Regions from separate parts of the Homo sapiens genome. Here all the other regions are linked to region 3. The links are contacts of gene promoters, found by promoter capture Hi-C in blood cells and fetal thymus (Javierre and others, 2016). All regions are on one chromosome and are shown on one strand. The core of a region is centred on a gene start or on the middle of the fragment in contact, and the rest is flanking DNA. Distances in the headings are between cores, read along the strand shown.

Region 1 (3,441 bases), core at 620-3,119, 320 kb before region 3:
TATCTCACAACTTTCTGCTGTTCTTTGCTTTTCATACTGTGTGCCTGTTTCTCCACCTCTGTCTCTGACTGTACCTGTTTTCCTTGAAATGAACTGTGTCGGTCCTGGTACATTTCCTATTTCATTATGTCAACTCTGAAGAATAGATATGATTATCAAAACTACAATGAGGAAATGACTTCCAAGAGGTCAAGCTAGAATGAGATTGCTTTTGAGTGGTGGAGCCCAAATTCAGGCGTAGGTGCACTAACTGAGTGGCCATGCTGTTAGCCACTGTGCTTTTTGGCAGATCAAAGGTTTATGCAGTACTTAGAAGTGCTGGGTTTTGAGTTTTGTCCTGTACTGGTTCCGAGAATGATAAGGTGTAGTCTTTGCTATCAGAAAGCTCAGGCTTTTGTTGAAGATTAAGCTTTCTTTTTGCCCCATAGGAATAACTCCGCCTAACATTCAAGGCCTTCATAACCATTGTTCCTACTTTGTTATTTTTCACTTCTCCCCACATGGACCTCTATTTCTGCCAGGTCCATGTACTTTTTTATTTTTTCCATACTCCCTGTTCTTGACTTTGCCATTACCCCAGTCTGGAAAGCCCTTTCTAGCTCCACTTCCTTTTCTCCTTCTAGATTCTAGCCCAAGCTCAATAGCTGTAAATATTTTTTAACCGTTAGCAAGCCAGTTTTGTATTGCTTCCTGGCTGTGTCTAATGTGAATATCTTGGTTCCCCAGCTAGAATGTAGACTGGTGACAGGGGATTCTGTTTTTCTTCGCCTTCTTTTTTTTAGAGAAAAAGCTCACAGCAGGTGTAATATGACTGTCCTCACATGACTGTTGTAATTTACTTTATTCATTCCAGTAACTCATACTCTATAACAGGATTGCCTTTTTTGTTACCTCTTTGTCTACCTTACATTAAAAGCAGATTTCTTGTTGCTCTGGTGATGCCTTACGGTGTATATTAGCACAAATTTTTATAATAAGGACTCAACTGATACCAACCAATAGTAAATACAAGGAGTCCCATCACGTGAGCATCTGACTTACGTAGATTCAAGCTTGTGGACTCAGCAAAAAAGAAAAGTACAAAAACAAAACCTCTCTGAAGTTGGCAGCCATTACCTTGTTGAGACTCAGACTTCATTTCCACGGTCCCGAGGAAAGAAAGAGGAAGTGGGTGTTGGCAAAATGAAAGAGAAGTACGTTGGTTCTGGGATTTTGAGCCCAGGAGAGTTGAGGGCATTAAAAGACAGTTTAACTGTGTCCACTTTTCTCCTTACCATTCATCTTGAGGATGATCAGCACCTTGTGCTCTAAATTTTACTTAGCTAAGTGTCCTTAATGAATTGTTGAAATGAGAATTGTCCCTTTTTAGGTGAAAAACCATTAACCTATTAGAAAAAGCTTTCACATACGGTATTTATATGTGATTAAATATTGACCTTGGGATAAAGAGCATCCTATTTTGAAAGGAAGAATTTAAAAAAAATTTTTCTCAGTTATTTAACTGTTCATTAGAATAGTCTTGAAACCTGATCTGTCATTCCCCTTACCCCCAATTCTGTGTTTAGATTCTCTTCCTGGACATTCTGTTGCCCTCTGTTTAGCTGTTGCCTTTAAAAGTAAGGCAACCAATGATGAAATCTTCAGCATTCTGAAAGATGTACCAAATCCTAACCAGGATGATGACGACGGTAAGTGGAATTCAGTATTTCTTAAGTGGAACTATGTATAGGCCAACTTAAAGCATAAACATAACTCTGGCAACATGATGCTCTTAAAGCAATATATCTATATCTGTTTGACCTGTTCAGACTGTTGTTCTTAGCACCCCAGGTATTTTCCCCTTATATAAAAAGAGATCCTAACATTTCTGTGATATAGCTTACTTAAGAATATAAACTTCATCGTAAATACAAAGTGAAATATGTTACCATTCAAGGATTTTTAACCCCTGCTTTCACCATAGAGAAGTTCCTGAATAGAAAGACTTGGTGTGTTATAAAGTTGGATGTTTTCTCCAAGTTAAGCTATTAGAATAATAATGTTTAACATTTACTCAGTTATATACCATGTAATTCCAACCAGAATCCTAGGAGTTTTTCTGGGCAAGAGTGGGAAAATTGACAAAATAATTTATACAGTTGCCTGAATCAATAAATGGATATGCACATAGAAAAACTACTGAATCAAAATAAGATATTAGTGGCCTTTGGGTATTTATTACTGGGATTTTGTTTGGATATCTCTAAGAAATTTGTATTATGATATTAGAGAAAATGAGTTTAGAAAGAATAAGCCAAAATGATGGCATTAAATTCAGATGTTGTCAGACATCTTAAGACATAAGCTTAAGTGTTTTTTTTTTTTTTTTTTGGTATTAATATAATAGAGGCTATGAATAAGGAAACCTGTGTGATTTTTTTTTTTCAAGGAATGGATGATAGAATTAAGACAGTCACATAAAACTAAGACTTAAAATTACAAGTGGTTTCATATTTTCAGTGTTTGAAATCAGTGACGGTCTTTTATTGTTTATTAGAACCAAAAAACATTACACAAATATCTGTGTATAGATGTGAGCAACCATCTATTTAGCATTTGAGGTAAGGCACCAAGGAATTGCTGTGCTTACATTTTTCTGTTTTACTATAAAATATTTTTCAGATGAAGGATTCAGTTTTAACCCATTGAAAATAGAAGTCTTTGTACAGACTCTGCTACACTTGGCAGCCAAATCATTCAGCCACTCCTTCAGTGCTCTTGCAAAGTATGTATGAGTACAGAGCCTTGCTTGAGAGTTTGGAATTTTGCTTGGTGAACACCAGTGGTATGGTAATTTTTACCTAAGATTGTTGAATATGAAGATCTTAATAGTGTATAATTGGACACAGTGGGTTTGGGTTTGTGGTAGCTGAAATCCATATCCTAAGGCTTCCGTCAGTCTGTTTGTACAGTTGGCATATGTACATGGTAAGTGCTTTTTTTCATATAGACATTTAAAGAAACTAGTGAAAAACCTAGGTTTTTGGGACAGTCATATGCAGTTGGAAGTTCCCACGCTAAATATCTTTCCAAAGCAATGTAAGAAGAAATTAGAATCAGCTACACTGTTGGGAGTCACGCAAAGGTTGGCATCTGAAGACAGGTATTTTTAACTTGTCAGACAGGGTCCAAAGGAAGAAAGAGCACATAGATTTTCCTTCTGCCAAGCAGAGAAACTGGACATCTCACCCCATCTCTGTCTCCAAGGCTTTATATTACTTGCAGGGTTCCCACAGAAGATGCAGTTTGAATATTTCACCATGTTTGAAGACAGTTCCTTAGTCCTTACCTATTCTTTTAAACTGTAGCCCTGGGCTAACGGTAGTATATTGTAAATGTCTTGAGATTTTGTGACAGCTTCCTTAAAAACTATCAATCTGTGATCACACTTTTTGCATCCTT
Region 2 (3,289 bases), core at 706-3,205, 300 kb after region 3:
TTCCCACTTGTAGCTTCCCTTAATAATATCTCAGGCTTCTCCCTTCATGTTCAGTTACTAAGAATCACTGGACAAAATGATAGACATCTAGATCAATGGAATAGAACTAAGAATCCAGAAATAAACCCTTGCATTTATAGTCAATTGATTTTCCACAAGGATGCTAAGACAATTCAGTGGAGGAAAGAATTATCTTTTCAATTAATGGTGCTAGGATAATTGGCTACCCACATGCAGAAGAATGAAGTTGCACTCCTTACGCATACCTTACCCAAAAATTAACTCAAATGGATTGTAAATGTAAGAGCTAAAACTAAAAAACTTTCAGAAGAAAAACAGAAGTATTTGTGATTTGAGCTTAGATATGACAGCAAAAGCATAAGCAATAAAAGAAAAAAGTAAGACTTCATCAAAATTAAAAACTTTTATGCTTTAAAGAACACCCTCAATAACATGAAAAGATAACCCATTGAATGGAAGAAAATATTTGCAAATCGTGGATCAAATAAGAAACTTGTATCTAGAATACATAACAAACTCTTACATCTCAATAGGAAGAATTCAAATTATTCAACTTAAAAATGGCGCCGGGTGCAGTGGCTCATGCCTATAATCCCAGCACGTTGGGAGGCTGAGGTGGGAGGATTGCTTGGAACCCAGGAATTGGAGACTAGCTGGGCAACATAGGGAGGCTCTGTCTCTACAAAACTAAAAAAATTAGGGAGTGGTGGCTTGCGCTTGCAGTCCTAGCTACTCGGGAATTTGAAGTGGGAGGATTCCTTTAAGCCCCAGGAATTCTAGGGTGCAGTGAGCCGTTGTTATCACACCACTGCATTCCAGCCTGGGCGACAAAGTGAGGCCCCGTTCCAGAAATAAATAAATAAAAGGCAAAGGCTCTGAACAGACATTTTTGCAAAGAAGATATGTCAATGGCCAATAAGTACATGAAAAGATGCTCAATATCTTTAGCCATCAGGGAAATGCAAACGAAAACCACAATGAGATACTTCACATCTACCAGGATGGCTATGAATTTTTTTTTAAAAATAGATAATAACAAATGTTGGTAAGCATAAGGAGAAATTGGAACCCTCATACATGCTGATGAGAATGTAAAATGTTGTAGCTGCAGTGGAAAAATCTGGCAGTTCCTCAAACAGTTAAAACTAGAGTTACCATACAACCCAGCAATTCCACTCCTAGTTATATCCCCAAGAAAAACAAAGACATTATGTCCACACAAAAACTTGAGTGTTCATAATATCATTATTCATAATAGTCCAAAAGTAGAAACAACTCAAATGTTTGCTAACTGATAACATGGATAATAATTGCATAAAGTAAAATGTATACACATACTATAGACTATATTCGGCAATAAAAGTTGAGGCAGTCCTGATCCATGCTGCAATATGAATGCATTATCTTGCATTCATATTGATAACACATGAATTTTGAACCCATTATCTTAAGTAAAAGAAGCCCATCACAAAGAACCACATATTGCAAGTTCCATTTATGTGAAATGTCCAAACTTACAGAGACAGAAAGTAGATTTCGTGGTTGCTTAGGCTGGGGGAACTTGGGGAGAAATAGGGACTGTCAGCTAACTCTTCTTGGAGTGATGAAAATGTTCCAAAGTTAGATTGTGGAGATGATTGTATGAATCTGTGAATATACTAAAAAATTTGAATTGTATACTTTAATTCATTTTATTTTATTTTTTTAGGATCTCAGTCTGTTGTAGTGGCAAAATCATGCTCACTATAACCTCAAACTCCTGGGCTCAAGTGATCCTCCTGCCTCAGCTTCCTGAGTAGCTGGGACTACAGGCGTGCATCCCCCACGCCGGGCTAATTTTTAAATTTTGTGTAGAGATGGAGTCCCCTTATGCTGTCCAGGCTGGTCTCAAACTCCTGGGCTCAAGGGATCCTCCTGTCTTGGCCTCCCAAAGCATTGGGATTATAGGTGTGAGCCACCATGCCTGGCTGAATTGCACCCTTTACAAGGGTGAATTGTGTGGTATGTGGATTCTATCTCAATAAAGCCACAAAAAGTAAAGAGTCTCTGGATGTTTAAAAAAAAAAAAAAAGTGCACTCTTCCCAGGCAGGCACTTGAGGTTTCTGTGACTTGGGGCAGGGAGGGAGGTGATGAGGTTTGCTCTCCCATTCTCTATTTTCTCTGAGATATCAGGGAAAGGAGGCAAGAGAGGGGAGAGGTATCAGAACACTGCTTTCTGTGACTCCTTGCGTGAGGTTACAGTCTTCTTTCTGCTGGCATCACTTCTTTTGTTCCTATCTGGCTGTCTGTTCCTCTGCCAGGCAGGTGTCTGAGTGCTGGCTTTCCAGTGGGTCCTTCTGACACAATCCTCTGGTGAGCAAGTTCTGACTGAACTTCATCCATCTACTTTTTTCCTCAGCCTCTTAGGATGATGAAATTCTCCCAACCTTCCTCAGTGCCCACACAACCCATGGAAAACCCACATCTCCTTGCCAAGCCACCCTGTGGGAATGCCACTGGCTACCCTAGTCTTCCTCTCTTCCGCTCAGCCCTCTCTCGACCTGCCAGCAACACTGGCCTGGGCATTGGGCAGTTCAATGGCGCTGAAGTTTTCAGATGAAAGGCATTGCCAGTCCCTTACTTGGTGAAGGGGAAAGGGTCTGGAGGAATACTTAAGCTACCCCCGATCTTATGGAGGGAGGGGAACTTATTTAAGCCTTCCCGGCTCCCCCATGGGATGAGAAGAGATGGCTGCTGCTCATGAATTCTGCTCTCACTTGCCTCCTCTTCTTCCCTGTGGTGGGGGTGACTTGTGAGAGAAAGTGGATGCTGGAGCGCTGGTTCTGCAGAAGTCCTGTGAAATTATGACTTCCAGCAGCTCCTGCATGGAGATACCGGCCCACATCTGAAGGTCCTTTGAACTCAGAATGGAAGCTCTAAAATCAAATCCAAGACTACTTGGCTTTTGCACTACTGAGTTTGAATTAACCCCAGGTGGTCTTCTCCACGCTTAGTGAGAAGATGGTGGCCTGCAGCTGCTTCTCCTCCCTCCACCCTTTACCTGAGCGGTGGAAATGACTTGAGCTTTTAGAGATGTGCGTGGGACACTTTCTCTAATTTTCAGAGACCATCTAGATAGAATAATCTTTATGGAAGAGGATATGGATTTGCTCTGATTGGTTGGGCCATTGTAGCAAGAATTAAAGAGAGAGGAGTTGAATGTGCAGGTTTCTGACACTACTCCAATCTCAAAACTTTCCCTCCCTCCCTCCTCCTTTCTTCCCTCCC
Region 3 (3,541 bases), core at 4-2,503:
ACTTTCATCTTCAAATGTTAACTCACTCAGTATTTTAAAAGCTGATATATAATTGGTTTACAACTAAATTTGGGTTGTTTGCCACTAAAACTTAGGTAAAATAGGAAAGGGGGCACTTTCTTAACTTCCATAAAACTTCATGTTAATACATAGAATTTCAAGTTTTTCTTTAACAAATTGTTCTTAGTTTTTGGTGCTTCTTGTCAGTACGATCTTCTTAGATTGTATTTGATTTGACACATTATGTATTTACTTATTGTACGCTGAATATAACGTCATTCCCCGGTGTTCTGCAAAGCACAACACTCATCCCGATCTGGTGCTCTAACCCCTGGGACCCTTTGGGCCAGACCATGACAAAGGCTGCCTGCCAGGTTTCAGCGAAACTTAGACCACCAAGAATTTACACACTTCACAGGGGTGCCCTAAGGAATAAATGAGATTAAAAAAAAAAGTCTGCGGGGAAACCCTGAGGCCCTATTAGAAATGCTAATCGTTTCCTTCTCTAGCTCCTATTAAAATGTTAGAAAACCGAGGGAGACTCTCCTGAACAGGGTGGGGATGCTCGGCTGCTCTGTGGCTTAGCAAGCGACCCCAGCTGCCCTGCCAGGGCCGGTCGGCCGCGATTCCGTCCCGACGGGGGGGATCCTCGGCGGCACTACGGACGCCAGTCTGCCAAGGAGGCAGCGGGGTTCGGCCTGTTGGCCCCAGACTGTGTGGCAGGCAAAAGGTGAACGTCAAAGCCTGTCCCCGGCTTCTTCACATCTCGCGCCTCCGCGGGCGTCGGGCCGCCCCCGTGAGCCTCCCCGGATGGACTGGGTTTTAGGGACCCCCGCAGCCGGACTGCAAAGCTTCCCACCAACCCTTCCCGCGAACCTCCCAGCCCGGGCCGCAAGCCCAGCTCCGGGCGCGACGACGTGGGGCCGGAGGTAGAAGGAGTCTCAGCGCGGCGGGGGCCGGGGGGCGGGGAAGCCCCCCCACCCACGAGAAAGGTCTTACATCAGCCGCCCCACGTGCAATCGGAGAGAGGGAGGAAGTCGCTCCTCTATTCGGGCTGCGCCTTTCCCCAGCCTCCGCCCCGCCCGCCGCGAGTCTCCCCGCCCCGCCTTGGTGCAGCCGCGGCCGCCGAGCCGAGCAGCGCCGCGCGGGGCCGAGTGGAGCCGAGCAGCTGCCGCGCCGCGTCGCCGGTTTAAGCGCAGTGCAGGCCGCGGCCGGGGGCGGCGGTAGTGAGCCCAGCGCTGCGCTCCAGCCCCCTTTTCCCTCCATGGTTTCTCTCCGCTCCCGTGAGTAACTTGGCTCCGGGGGCTCCGCTCGCCTGCCCGCACGCCGCCCGCCACCCAGGACCGCGCCGCCGGCCTCCGCCGCTAGCAAACCCTTCCGACGGCCCTCGCTGCGCAAGCCGGGACGCCTCTCCCCCCTCCGCCCCCGCCGCGGAAAGTTAAGTTTGAAGAGGGGGGAAGAGGGGAACATGGACATGAAGAGGAGGATCCACCTGGAGCTGAGGAACCGGACCCCGGCAGCTGTAAGCAGAGACCCCTCTGGGTGCCCTCTCCCCCGATGACTTGCATGTAATGGTGGCCACCTGCGGGGCCCGGGCTGAGGGTTCGCCGGCCCCGGCGCGGGGAAGAGCGCAGCTCGTGGGCTCGGACGGGGAAGGCGGGCGGGCGCGGAGGGGGGAGCGAGCGCGCGAGGATTAACTCTTTGCCGCCCGCGGGCCCCTGGGGCGGCCGGGGGGAGGCAGCGGTGTGGGGGAAAGCAAACTTTGAGCGCTTCGCCCGCCGGGGTCTTTCCCCTGAGGGAGCGCGTGTGCAAGTGGCCGGCGGCGAGAGAGGGAGGCGGGGGTTGTGTAACGCTGGGAGCCATGTTTGCAGCCTCCCGGGATGCGCGGCCGGGCGGAGGCCCGGCCTGCCGAGGAGCTGCGCGGCCATCCCCGCCTGGGCCAGGCCGGGCTCCGCGCGCCCCGGGCCGGCCGGGGAAGGGGCGCGGGTGGGGCGGGACGGGGGCTCTTGTGGCCGGAGCTCGCCGTGGGCGCCGGCCCGGCCGAGGTCAGCAGTCGTGGGGCGAGGAGGGGGCTTTTTTCTTTTGAAGGGAGCGAGAAGCCCCCTCGGGCGCCTGGAGGCCTGGGCGGGCGCGGCCCGGCGCGCGGAGCGGGGGAGGGGCGGGCCAGGGCGGCGGAGGTGGCGCAACCGCCGCCCCTCCCGAGGCCAAGTTTGAAAAAAGGACGTGGTTCCCGCCATTTTTCAAGCCCAAAAATAAAACTTTCTCCCCCGTTCTCTCGCTCCCTCTTCGCCCTCGGCCTTGCCCACTCCTGCCTCCCAGGGGCAGCCCGGGTCGACCAAGGCCAACCGTTGTGGCGACGGCCTCGCCCTTCCCCCTGTGCCGCGGCGGCGGCGCCCGGGGCCCCTGCCCTTGCCCCGGGAGGCTGGCCCCTCCGTGTGGGCGGGCGGCGGCTCTTCACGCCAGCCGGGGCGCGCCACAGGCCGCCGCAGCGCCATGTTGGCGGGTGCCCGTCTCCCTGCGCCTGGTGAGCCGGCCCACGAGCTTGGCCTTGCCCGCCCGCCCTCGGCGCTGGCTGGCGGCCGCCTCTTCCCGCGCCGAGCCCTCGGTCTGTTTCCCCCCGCCCCGCCGGGGCTTGGCTCCCACTGGCGGGAGCCGCGCGCCGCGGCCGCCGCCGACTCATCCCGTCGCGGGCGCGCTGCCGACCCCCTCCCCCTTCTTAAAAGGGCAACGGCAGGCGGCCGCCCCCGCCCCGCGCCGGGCGCGCGGGATTTTGGGCGGGCTTCGGCTCGGCTCGTGGGCCGGGCGGCCTCTGGCCTCCCACGTGCTTGAGAGCGGCCTGGTGCGGTCGGCCGCGCGCCTTGCGGGCTGTAGGGGCCTGAGGGCGGCCCTCTTGCGGCGCGGCTGCGTGGGCGTGGGTCCGACCTGTGGGAATTGCCCCATTCGTCTCCCGGGTTTAGCGCGGCTGCCCGCCGTCGCGAGCCCCCCCCCCGCCGCGGACCGGCGCGGGCCAGTTAGCGCCGCGGCCGGGTGCCCCAGCGGGCCAGTGGCTTTCCCGCGGAGGGCGGCCCCGCGGGGCCTCCCGACCCGCTCTGGGCTAAGCGAGCGGCCAGGTTTCGTGCCCTCAGGTGGCTGTGGTTAACAAGTCGCGAACTTGTGGGAATTCGTCGACCAGGGTTTACCTGGTGTGCTCGACATTTTAAATCCTTGCTCTCTAGTCTTTGAGGTCACCACTAACGCGGGGCGGGCCGGGCTCCACCGCACGGCGCTGTCCTTCCCGGAGGGCCCGCGAGGGTGGGCCGCTCCGGGGGTTGCGAGATGGAGGGTCGCGGGCGTGCGTTCTTCCGACCTTCCGTCAGACATTTTGTGCCCGCCACGTGCTAGCCTATCGCCCAGCTCGCGCCTCAAAACTTGAGAGGCTTTCTTGGCTTGAGAAGGTGTTTATTCCAGACTTTTCCATTGCGGCGTAATTGCAAATCCGTAGAATATGGAGTAGCTAAAATTAGCCAAAGTGCCCGCAAGAGAAGTACACACGTGGGTCTTC

The links. Contacts are between HindIII fragments. The CHiCAGO score rates a contact against its expected background, and 5 or more counts as called.
Region 1: a fragment that was not itself captured here is called in contact with the fragment with the promoter of ANP32B in region 3 in 1 of 17 cell types (erythroblasts); the score reaches 7.5 in erythroblasts.
Region 2: a fragment that was not itself captured here is called in contact with the fragment with the promoter of ANP32B in region 3 in 1 of 17 cell types (non-activated CD4 T cells); the score reaches 7.2 in non-activated CD4 T cells.

What each region holds. Positions count from the first base shown.
Region 1 is chr9:97,659,381-97,662,821 of GRCh38, forward strand. It overlaps NCBP1 (nuclear cap binding protein subunit 1), which reads left to right. Exons shown (of 23, transcript NM_002486.5): 16 at 1,566-1,688; 17 at 2,662-2,764. It also overlaps a transcript of XPA not described here. Among named protein-coding and RNA genes, the nearest start is that of NCBP1, 27 kb to the left of the region's middle. The HindIII fragment of the contact is 946 bases long and covers 1,397-2,342 here.
Region 2 is chr9:98,276,465-98,279,753 of GRCh38, forward strand. No RefSeq gene overlaps it. Among named protein-coding and RNA genes, the nearest start is that of TBC1D2, 22 kb to the left of the region's middle. RefSeq lists an enhancer at 3,275-3,289. The HindIII fragment of the contact is 5,565 bases long and covers 1-3,289 here.
Region 3 is chr9:97,982,088-97,985,628 of GRCh38, forward strand. It overlaps ANP32B (acidic nuclear phosphoprotein 32 family member B), which reads left to right and starts at 1,254. Exons shown (of 7, transcript NM_006401.3): 1 at 1,254-1,522. The coding sequence starts at 1,469. All of the region lies in intron 2 of LOC124902226 (a long non-coding RNA gene), which reads right to left. It overlaps LOC124902225 (a long non-coding RNA gene), which reads left to right and starts at 3,349. Exons shown (of 2, transcript XR_007061685.1): 1 at 3,349-3,434. RefSeq lists silencers at 824-1,483, 1,634-1,723, 1,914-1,993, 2,064-2,263, 2,274-2,323 and 2 more and an enhancer at 1,124-2,006. The HindIII fragment of the contact is 9,132 bases long and covers 850-3,541 here.